Regions from separate parts of the Homo sapiens genome. Here regions 2 and 3 are each linked to region 1. Evidence: promoter capture Hi-C in 16 types of primary human blood cells and fetal thymus (Javierre and others, 2016). All regions are on one chromosome and are shown on one strand. The core of a region is centred on a gene start or on the middle of the fragment in contact, and the rest is flanking DNA. Distances in the headings are between cores, read along the strand shown. Region 1 holds the start of ZDHHC24 (zDHHC palmitoyltransferase 24). Region 2 overlaps TOP6BL (TOP6B like initiator of meiotic double strand breaks). Region 3 overlaps TOP6BL (TOP6B like initiator of meiotic double strand breaks).

Evidence for each region. The method cuts DNA at HindIII sites, captures the fragments that hold promoters and counts their contacts. A CHiCAGO score of 5 or more calls a contact.
Region 2: a fragment that was not itself captured here is called in contact with the fragment with the promoter of ZDHHC24 in region 1 in 1 of 17 cell types (M1 macrophages); the score reaches 6.2 in M1 macrophages.
Region 3: a fragment that was not itself captured here is called in contact with the fragment with the promoter of ZDHHC24 in region 1 in 2 of 17 cell types (M2 macrophages and M1 macrophages); the score reaches 6.9 in M2 macrophages.

Annotation. Positions count from the first base shown.
Region 1 is chr11:66,544,335-66,547,813 of GRCh38, reverse strand. It overlaps ZDHHC24 (zDHHC palmitoyltransferase 24), which reads left to right and starts at 1,766. Exons shown (of 3, transcript NM_207340.3): 1 at 1,766-2,091. The coding sequence starts at 1,811. It overlaps ACTN3 (actinin alpha 3), which reads right to left and starts at 911. Exons shown (of 21, transcript NM_001104.4): 1 at 730-911. The coding sequence starts at 876. RefSeq lists enhancers at 1,164-1,213, 1,284-1,343, 2,492-2,601 and silencers at 1,464-1,593, 1,774-2,013. The HindIII fragment of the contact is 15,014 bases long and covers 1-3,479 here.
Region 2 is chr11:66,818,853-66,822,331 of GRCh38, reverse strand. TOP6BL (TOP6B like initiator of meiotic double strand breaks) reads right to left here. Exons shown (of 15, transcript NM_001302084.2): 10 at 568-689. Among named protein-coding and RNA genes, the nearest start is that of RCE1, 23 kb to the left of the region's middle. The HindIII fragment of the contact is 3,144 bases long and covers 70-3,213 here.
Region 3 is chr11:66,800,712-66,804,190 of GRCh38, reverse strand. It overlaps TOP6BL (TOP6B like initiator of meiotic double strand breaks), which reads right to left. Exons shown (of 15, transcript NM_001302084.2): 6 at 3,089-3,160; 7 at 1-196. Among named protein-coding and RNA genes, the nearest start is that of RCE1, 41 kb to the left of the region's middle. The HindIII fragment of the contact is 3,787 bases long and covers 1-3,479 here.

The DNA of each region.
Region 1 (3,479 bases), core at 517-3,016:
GCCTCAGCACTAAGTGTCCATCTGGCTGGAGAGTCAGGTTACAGCGTAAGGGGACCCAGGTCTCCCCTCCTCCCCGACCTATGGCCTTTTCAGCAGACTCAGGGCCCCATGCCTGGGGTATCTTGGGAAAGAATGGGGGTAGGGAAAAGGGTAAAGATCCTCAGGTTGCGGGGGTCCTGATGTCTGACAGTCTGTGATGTGGGGCCTGTCTGTGCTCTTTCTGGGCTTCAGTTTCTTCAATTGTTAAATGAGATACAGCGACTATGGACCCCACCCTGGAGACGAGGTGGGGTGGGGTCTGAGAGGACCCTTCTCACTACCCCCACACTCCCAAGTCCACTAGTTGCCTGACTGCAAGCCTTCAGGGTGGGGTCTGGGAATATTTAACTAGAAGAAGATTCTTCTTTCTGAACCCCCCCTAACTTGGATCTCCTGGGGTTTGCCCAGCCTGTTTTCAGCAGCAGAAGTGGGGCAGTGGGCCCAGGGGAATGAACCCTGGTGGGGGTGGGGAGCCCAGAAACTCTCTTGTCATTTTAAACCCCTCTTGAGGGCTCCCAGCCCTCTCCTCCAGCCCTGGGGACAGCAGGCAGCTGATGGGCAGAGCCTGGGCTGGGGATTAGCACTCTAGGTTAAAGACAAGCTCTGCCCCTGCACTGCTGAGATGCCCAGGACAAACAGCCCGGCCTCTCAGGCCTCGGTTTTGCTGTCAGGAAATGGGCGAGCACTCACTTTCCGCTGCTGCTTCTCCCAGGCCGGGTCCAGCAGCAGGTCGCGGTCCCAGTCCTCCTCCTGTTCCATGTACTCGCCGCCCCCGCCGCCGCCCGCAAAGCGCCCCTCCCCGGCCCCCAGACCCTCGGGCTGCATAACCATCATCATCTCGATCGGGCTCCTGGCTTCGCTCCGCTCGGCACGCTCTCGGACACCCGGGCCCCATTAAGTAGGGCCCAGCCCAGCCCCAGATCGAATTCGCACTAAATATGGGGGAGGAGGGAGGGGCCGGATGGGGGTGAAGGAGCTCGGGTTGGACCTGGCAAGGGGTTGTCCTGAAGCCGGGAACTGCGGGACTCGGGGGCGCCGGGGTGGATCTCGCGGCGGAGATCCTGGGTTTGCATTCCTGCTCCGCTGCTGGGGCGCTGTGTGACCTTGAGAAATCCACGGGACCTCTCTGAGTCTGTTTACTCCTCTCCACAATAGAAAGGCCGATAATAATAGTGGCCGCGGGCCGCTCTAGAGGCTGCCCTCTGGAGCTCCTCGTGAGCCTCTTCCAGCACCTCGCTGGTGGGACACAGAGCCCTATCCCCATTTCACAGTCAGGAACACAGAGGCGCCGAGCTGTTTTGCATGTTTTCTGGGGTGATGGAGACACCCGGGCATGGGGAACGGCTCTGAGCCAGCTGGATGGGCTGCGGCAGGGCTATTAATATCGGGGCGGCTGTGGGGAGTAGGGGAGAATGTGCTGAGCCGGGAAACCCCGACACCACCCCGGCTGCAACTCAATCCCCCGGGCACTCCTGGCCCCCGCGCCAGCGGGCGGGGCTCCGACGGGATGGGAGGAGCCTCCAGGGTGGGCGGGTCAATCACTCCGCGGCGTTATCCGGGCTCCAGCGCCGCGGGATTCCGAGCGCCTCCACTGCTGGTCCGTTGGCCAGATCAACTCGCCGCGTGGGCCGGCCGTTCCCTGAGAGTCTGAGCGCTCGCCGCACCCCCTTCCGAGCTTCTATTGGCCGTAGCAGACGTCCGTCTGCCGCTATCTCCGCCCCAATACGGAAGCGGCCTAGTCCTCCGGCTCCGACAGCTGGGTGTCCAGGCCATGGGGCAGCCCTGGGCGGCTGGGAGCACGGACGGGGCGCCCGCGCAGCTGCCTCTCGTGCTCACCGCGCTGTGGGCCGCGGCCGTGGGCCTGGAGCTGGCTTACGTGCTGGTGCTCGGTCCCGGGCCGCCGCCGCTGGGACCCCTGGCCCGGGCCTTGCAGCTGGCGCTGGCCGCCTTCCAGCTGCTCAACCTGCTGGGCAACGTGGGGCTCTTCCTGCGCTCGGATCCCAGCATCCGTGGCGTGATGCTGGCCGGCCGCGGTCTGGGCCAGGGCTGGGCGTGAGTGGGGTGCGGGATCGGGCGGGGAGAAGTGGGAGCCTTGGACAGGGGGGAGGGGCCCCAAGACCTGAGATGTTAGAACCGGGTTACATTAGGATCCAGGTTGTTAGAATCAGACATTTTTTTAGAACCTGGGATGGAAGAGCTAGAATTGAGTGTTATTTATTTACTCGCAAATACTTATTGGGAGCCTACTAGGTGCAAGGTTTTGTTACAGGGACGAAGGGTACAATAGAACAAATTCCTGATTTGAGGGGGGTGCAGATGAGAAACTAGAGGAATAATAAGCAAATCATATAGAATGCTAGAAGGTGATAGTAGTTTGGAAACAAGAAGTAGAGCAGGGTAAAGGGGTTGCAAGTTTCAATATTAAATAGGTGGTTAGGCCGGGTGCGTTGGCTCACATCTGTAATCCCAGCACTTTGGGAGGCCGAGGCCGGCGGATCACTTAAGGTCAGAAGTTTACCAGCCTAGCCAACGTGGTGAAACCCCGTCTCTACTAAAAATATAAAAAAATTAGTCGGGCATGGCGGCACGTGCCTGTAATCTCAGCTACTGGGGAGGCTGAGGCAAGAGAATTGTTTGAACCTGGGAGGCGGAGGTTGCAGTGAGCCGAGATCGAGCCACTGCACTCCAGCCTGGGTGACAGAGCAAGACTCCCTCCGTCTCAAATAAATAAATACATAAATAAACAGGTGGTAAATTCTCATCACAAAAATATGAGTGTTTGAGGTAATGGCTATCCTAATTAGCTTGATTTATTCCAAGCTGTACTGATAAATCATAACATCACTTGGTATCCCATAAGTATATACAACTGGAATTTGTCAATTTATAATTAGAAAAAAAAATTACACCAGGTACAGGCTCTACACACACATTTTATGCCAGGCAGAGGCTTTTGCTGAGACTGAGGCTGTAGTGTGCTATGATCACACCTGTGAACAACCACTACACTCCAGCCTGGGTAATGTAGCGAGACTCTGTCCCTAAAAATTTTTTTTAATTAATTTTTAAAATAATATACATAAATGTGTGGTCAAGGTAGACCTCATAGAGAAGGAGGCATTTGAGCAAAAAACTTGGAGGGCGTGGGGGGCGGTTAGCCATGTGGGAATCTGAGGGAAAGGTGTTCCAGGCAGAGGTAACAAGTGGTGCAAAGGCTCTGAGGCAGTTGTGTACCCAGCATGTATGTTCCCAGAACAGCAAGAAGGCCAGTGTGGCTGGAGTGCAGTAAGAGAGGGGAAGAGATGTCACAGATAGAAGGATGTTGTAGGACACTGAAGGCTTTGCTTTTTACTAGAAATAAATTGGAGAACCACAGGAGGGTTTTAAGCAGAGGAGGGTCAGTTTGGTTGCTGGGGTGAGACCGTACGAGGTGGGGCAAA
Region 2 (3,479 bases), core at 392-2,891, 270 kb before region 1:
CAGAGAAGACAAGCAATAGGACAATGATCAAGAAAACAGACACACTATTTGGGAAAAAAAAAAAAAGCTTTTAGTTCTGCTCTCTTAGTGTGGTTGTTTTTTCCCTGAAAAGGGGGCCATATGAGGTAAGAAATGTGTTACCAAAAGTACACAGGATGGATGGATGTAGAAAATCAGGTAAGGAGAGAAAGTGGTGGTGTAAAGAATTAGGAAAATGGGGGAAGAATGTAAGACACAGCGAAACAGCAGCTCCAGAAGTCTGTGTGGGAAGGGGAATTATATGCATAAGGAAGAGGTGTGTTATCAGCCATTTTTCCCTATTAACTATTTCCCTATTTACCCAAACACACCTACTAGGAGGTAAGACTAAGCAAGCTGGTTACAGTGATCCATCTAAGCTAAAGTTTGAGTTGTAGGCTAGATGCAGTGTTACAAGATCACCCAGGTGACAGAAGAGGAGAGGAAGGGGCATTAAGGGAGGAAGGGCTCCTGGGCCCTGCCTGCCATATATGCTTGCTATCTTTTTCTTAGAGAATAGGAGAAAAGAGGCTGTGAATTCCTTATTACCTTGGCAGCCTGGTGATGTTGCTCCAAGACCTTGTCCACAGTGAATTGGATGGAACCTTGCACTACACTGTGGCTCTCCACAAGGATGGCATTGAGATGAGTTGTGAGCAAAGTATAGACTCCTAAGGGGAGGGAGAAGGTAAAATTATCACTATATCTACCTCCCCTCACTGTGCATCTGCAAAAGCTAGTCTTAAATTACCAGATGTGGCCTGTAATCCCAGCACTTTGGGAGGCCGAGGCGGGCGGATCACGAGGTCAGGAGATCGAGACCACGGTGAAACCCCGTCTCCACTAAAAATACAAAAAATTAGCCAAGCACGGTGGCGGGCACCTGTAGTCCCAGCTACTCGGGAGGCTGAGGCAGGAGAATGGCGTGAACCCGGGAGGCGGAGCTTGCAGTGAGCCAAGATTGTGCCACTGCGCTCCAGCCTGGGTGACAGAGTGAGACTCCGTCTCAAAAAAAAAAAAAAAAAAATTACCAGATGTGTAAGATTTAAGACACTTGTTTACTAATACACTGATGAATTTCTTTTAAATCCAATACTGAGTACAACGACTGAGATACTGCAGGCCCTCAGAATCAAGCTAAACAGAGGTGTACAAATTATCACAGTAGTTCAGGAATGATAACACTGGTTTCTGAGGAATCCGAGTTCTTTAGAAATGTTCAGTAGGGCTCAGAACATGGTATCAGGCTTGCATTATCCAAGGATTAACCATGAGCGAGGATAACTACTTCAAGATTGCTGTTCATGTGCTTTGAGTCAGGACTGGGAGTGGGAAAGATGCCTCTTGGAAGAAGAGACCCCTACATATCCACAAATAATTACCTTTTTTTAGACAAAATCTCCCAGCAACTTACACACCTACCTAATTCCCACTCATAAATCTAAGAAAGCTCAGGAAAATTAAGGTGGAGAATGACATTATTTTTTAAAGAAACAAATAAGGGATCCTGTTTAATTCATAGCAGAAATATATACCATGTACTATAAACAACAATCCCAGTGACTCCCAAAGGAGAGGAGAAAGGGAGAAGCAAAGGTCCTATAGAGTGTGTCTAACCCTACTCTACGTCTATGTGAACATCACTGTTGTGGCAGTGCTTTCAGACGTACTGTGGTAAAGAAAAGGTTAAAATTCACAGAGATGACACAGAACTGTTGGTATGAGGTCCTTTTAAATGGGAGATTATCTCTGTTAAAGTAACCACAGGCACCACTGCTCAGTCTCATTCAGAAAAGCTAATATGTGAGAGCAACAGGCAAAAAAACTATGCCATCAAACAATAGGCCACCATTTAATGATCCCGATGCAGCAGGCACAGGAAGCCAAATTTACAGGTCACCTGGAGAAAATCCTTCTTGATTATTCTTTGTTTTCAGTGTTCAGAATTCTATGGGAAGCAGCCTAAAACTGGCTGGCTTTTTCCAGGACTGTATTAAAAATGCAAACCAGAAGAACATTTTCTACCACAAGGCACCATGATCCTTTCCTGGTAGGGAACGTAATATATGGTAAGCTCAAAAGGATTCTGGAGCTGGAGTCAGGGAGAACATAGATTCTAGGGCCAATTCTGCCATCAACTAGTGGTGATGAAATCTTTTCTTCAGTATAGAAAATGGCTTTATACCACCTGCTCTCACAGGTATGTTGTGTAGATAAACTGCGATAATGTACACAAAGTGTTTTGTGGGTTTTGTTGCCCAGCCTGGAGTGCAGTGACACGATCTTGGCTCACTGCAGCCTCGACCACCGGGGCTCAAGTGATCCTCCCACCTCAGCCTCCCGAATAGCTGGGACCACAGGTGTACACCACCACCATGCCTGGCCAATTTTTTTTTTTTTTTTTTTTTTAAGACAAGAGTTTTGCTCTTGTTGCCCGAGCTGGAGTGCAATGGCGTGATCTCGGCTCACTGCAACCTCCGCCTCCTGGATTCAAGTGATTATCTTGCCTCAGCCTCCCGAGTAGCTGGGATTACAGGCGCCTGCCACCACACCCAGCTAATTTTTGTATTTTTAGTAGAGACGGGGTTTCGCCATGTTGGCCAGACTGGTCTCAAACTCCTGACCTCAGTGTGATCCGCCCGCCTCGGCCTCCCAAAGTGCTGGGATTACAGGTGTGAGGGACCATGCCCGGGCAAATTTGTATATGTAGAGACGAGGTCTCGCTGTGTTGCCCGAGCTGGTCTTGAACTCTTGGGCTCAAGCGGTCCTCCTGCTTTGGCCCCTCAAAGTATTGGGATTACAGGAGCCAAGCCACAGTGCCTAGCCCATGAAGTGTTTTGAAATGTACACTGTACAGTTTCAAAATATTGCTATTGCTATGTTAATGTATCATCTAGATTGGTATTTTCCATAGTTTGGTTTTAAGAACAGCTTCAAGAAATCAGATCTCTTTTGAAAGCAGACATTTAATTTAAAAGTCAAAGTTCATTCCTAAAACTTTTGACCACCAAATGCTTTTGACATTGGGGAAAATAATGAGTTAGTCACAAGAAAAAAAAAATGAGTTAATCACAGAAAAGTTACCATGACAAGGTAGGTGGGCATAAGGCCAATTAAGTAATTTTCTTAAAGACACATGGAAACAGACTAACTTTGCACCATCTGTTTCCTAAAAAAGAGGCTCTAGAGAAAGCTTTTAAGGATATGAGAAAGAAAAGGGGGAAGAGAAGGTAAAATTATCACTATGTCTATATCTACCTTCCCTCACTGTGCATCTTCTTCAGAGGCTAGTCTTAAATTACCAGATGTGTAAGATGGGAGAGCCTTACTGTGTTTACTAATACATTGATGAATTTCTTTTAAATCCAATACTGAGTACAACAACTGAGATACTGCAGGCCTTCAGGGTCAAGCTAAACAGAAGTGTACAAATTATCACAGTAGTTCAGGAATGATAATAC
Region 3 (3,479 bases), core at 501-3,000, 260 kb before region 1:
GGAAACTGAAGAAATCCTGTTAAGCTGGTTGGAAGAAACCTTTGGGCTGGGGCACAGTGCAGCTGCTGGAGTCAGTATCAGTTCTCCCAACAAGTCCATGCCAGCCACGTCTTCAGGGATGAAAAGCATTACTGGATGTCCTAGCACAGGGTGAATTCTGCTGCAGTGTGATTCAATTGTACCAAAATTTGGTCTACTGTCAGAAAACAGACAAGTCAAATTTAACATTTTTTCCTCTTAAGAAATTATTTAAAAGAGCATTCAAAATTATTTTTGTAACCTCTAGCATATGTACAACCACACAACCTGCCATATCAGTTTTGTTGGAATAAATAACTTATGTCTCACTCAGGGAATCACAGCAATGGAAGTAGTAGAAAAACTGGCATTTCAGAGATATCATTGCTCCTGCTTTTGCTGCCACTAACGGATGCTTCTTAGTTTCTCTTTTTAAAAAAACATTTTAGACCAGGCATTGTGGCTCATGCCTGTAATCCCAGCACTTTGGGAGGCTGAGGTGGGTGGATCACTTGAGGTCAGGAGTTCAAGACCAACCTGGCCAACATGGTGAAACTCCATCTCTACTAAAGATACAATAGCTGTGCATGATGGTGCACACCTGTAATCCCAGCTATTCAGGAGGCTGAGGCAGGAGAATCGCTTGAACCTGGGAAGCGGAGGTTGCAGTGAGCTGATATTGCGCCACTGCACTCCAGCCTGAGCAACAGAGCGAGACTTTGTCTCGAAAAATAATTACTATTATTTTATTTTATTAGAGATGGGGTCTCACTATGTTTATTAGGCTGGTCTCAAACTCCTGGCCTCAAGCAATCTTTCTGCCTTGGCCTCCCAAAGTGCTGGGACTACAGGTGTGAGATATCATGACCAGCCTGTTTCTTATTCTCAAGTATACTTCCTCCACTAAAATTAATCTTTGGTTCTGAGCAAATTTCCAAATTCATTCAAAGGTCAGCATTGTGTGAGGGGGCCCATGAATCACAAATGGCCTAAAACTGGCCCCATGATACTTATAAGTCTGCTCTCACGCATGCTACACCTTCCGCTGAAGAGGTCTGAGGTTGCTGTTTGATAGTAACAATGAGAAAAAACCAGGCCATCTTTCTCTCCTAGAAAGAATCTAGTAAAATTTTGTTACTTTCCAATAGCTCTTTTCTAAACAGAGAGAAAACAGTCAACCTGAGAAAGCTGATTAAGAATGAATGAATTAATTAATAGAGAGGAAATATTAATGAACCTTTCCCTTTGTCTCTAATCAGGTCATCCAAGGAAACACATCTACAAAAATTGGCTCAAAGGCTTAAACTTGTGTCAGTACAACTATGATGATGAGCTGCTACCTGTAAGGATTGTTTATTATTAGAGGATCACTAAAGAAAGATATGGGGTGGGGAAATTATTACCTGCATATTAAATGACAAAAATATTCTCATCTGAGGTGTAATTTTGGGTGAGAATAAGAAAACAGACTAAGAACCACAGGCAGTCTCTTTAAGCCTTAAGAGACTTTGACTACTAGTGTTGCCTCTGGGCACATAAATAGAGGCAGAAACTAATGAATAAAGACTAAATTAGGGCTGGACACATTGGCTCACATCTGTAATCCCAGCTCTTTGAAAGGCCGAGGCAGGAGGATTGCTTGAGTCCAGGAGTTTGACACCAGCCTAGGCAACAACCTCATCTCTACAAAAAAAAATTTTTTTTAAATTAGCAGTATATGGGCTGGGCGCAGTGGCTCATGCCTGTAATCTCAGCACTTTGGGAGACCGAGGCAGGAGGATCACGAGGTCAGGAGATTGAGACCATCCTGGCCAACATGGTGAAACCCCATTTCTACTAAAAATACAAAAAAATTAGCTGGGCGTGGTGGCATGCACCTATAGTCCCAGCTACTCAGGAGATTGAGGCAGGAGAATCGCTTGAACCAGGGAGGTGGAGGTTGCAGTGAGGTGAGATCTGCACTCCAGCCTGGGCGAAAGAGCGAGACTCCGTCTCAAAAAAAAAAAAAATTAGCAGCGTATGGTAGCATATTTCTGTGGTCCTAGCTACTAGCTACTCGAGAGGCTGAGGTGGGAAAATGACTTGAGCCCAGGAGACCAAGGCTGCAGTGAGCTATGATGGCATCTGGGTTGAACAGACTGAGACCCTGTCTCAAAAAAAGAAAAAATAAATTAATTGGACTTAAGCATATGTTAGGTCTTTTCTTGACATAATTCATTTTCACTTTGGATTCTGTGGTAGTTAAATGGCACAGGAAGGCAAGACAGAAGGGCTCTGTGTGTTCCATATTGTTTACCACCTCCTCCATGGATTTTTTACATTTTTTATTTATTTATTTTTTTTGAGACAGAGTCTTGCTCTGTCGCTGGAGTGCAGTGGCGTGATCTCGGCTCACTGCAACCTCCACCTCCTGGGTTCAAGTGATTCTCATGCTTTGGCCTCCCAAGTAGCTGGGATTACAGGCATGTGCTACCATGCCCAGCTAATTTTTGTATTTTTAGCAGAGACAGGGTTTTGCCATGTTGGCCAGGCTGGTCTCAAACTCTTAACCTCAAGTGATCCATCAACTTCAGCCTCCCAAAGTGCTGGGATTATAGGCATGAGCCACTGCGCCTGGCCAGATTTACTTTCTTGGAGTCTGAAGAAGATGGAGATGGGCAGAGAGATGATTTCCAAACCTATGCAAAATGCTGATGCACAGAAAATAATGTACACTGAATTCCTTTGTATTCATACTATCTCTCTAGCCAAGAATTCAAGTAAAGTTTTAAATTCATAGTCTTCTCTTCTCATGCCTAAATGGGATTGGAACTAGCAGGGTCTGTGTAAAATAAGGCCTGAAGAGAAGAAGGCACATGTCTTCAGGTCATTTAGAATAGATTCAAATACATAAATAACTTAAAATAGCAGTTTTCAACATAAAAAAAAGTTTTACTTCTGCTTTTCTTATAGAGAAGCTGACACCTGGCACTTACAAATGACAAGTGAGACAATTTCCAATTTCTACCCACATTCGTACTCGAGAGGAGAGTAAAACATGCAGAGGGACAACAAGGCTTTACGCCTTCACCTCACATAATGCTGGGAGTCGACCAAAAGAGCAATTCCATTCCCAAGGTTCAAAGTGGGTTCATTCTCCACCCTGCAAAGCAAAGCAAAGCTAAGCCATCTCTCAAAGATTCTAAAATCAATCTCTGTTTGACATAAATTTTGGCCCATGACTACTACCACCCCAGCGATTACTAGAATTCAGTAACTAATTAACCAAGGGGAAAATGGCAATCTTTAAGTTTACCCCCTCTAGAGACAGGGATGAATCTACTAAAATAATAAAATGTGGGGGTGTCAGAAAATTAGTTTCAAGGTGACTTTGGGTCAAGATATCAAACTGTGAACCTTTTGGAAATAGGACAATAATAGCTGAGAAAAATTGCAGAGCCATAGCATCATCTTAAGCCATA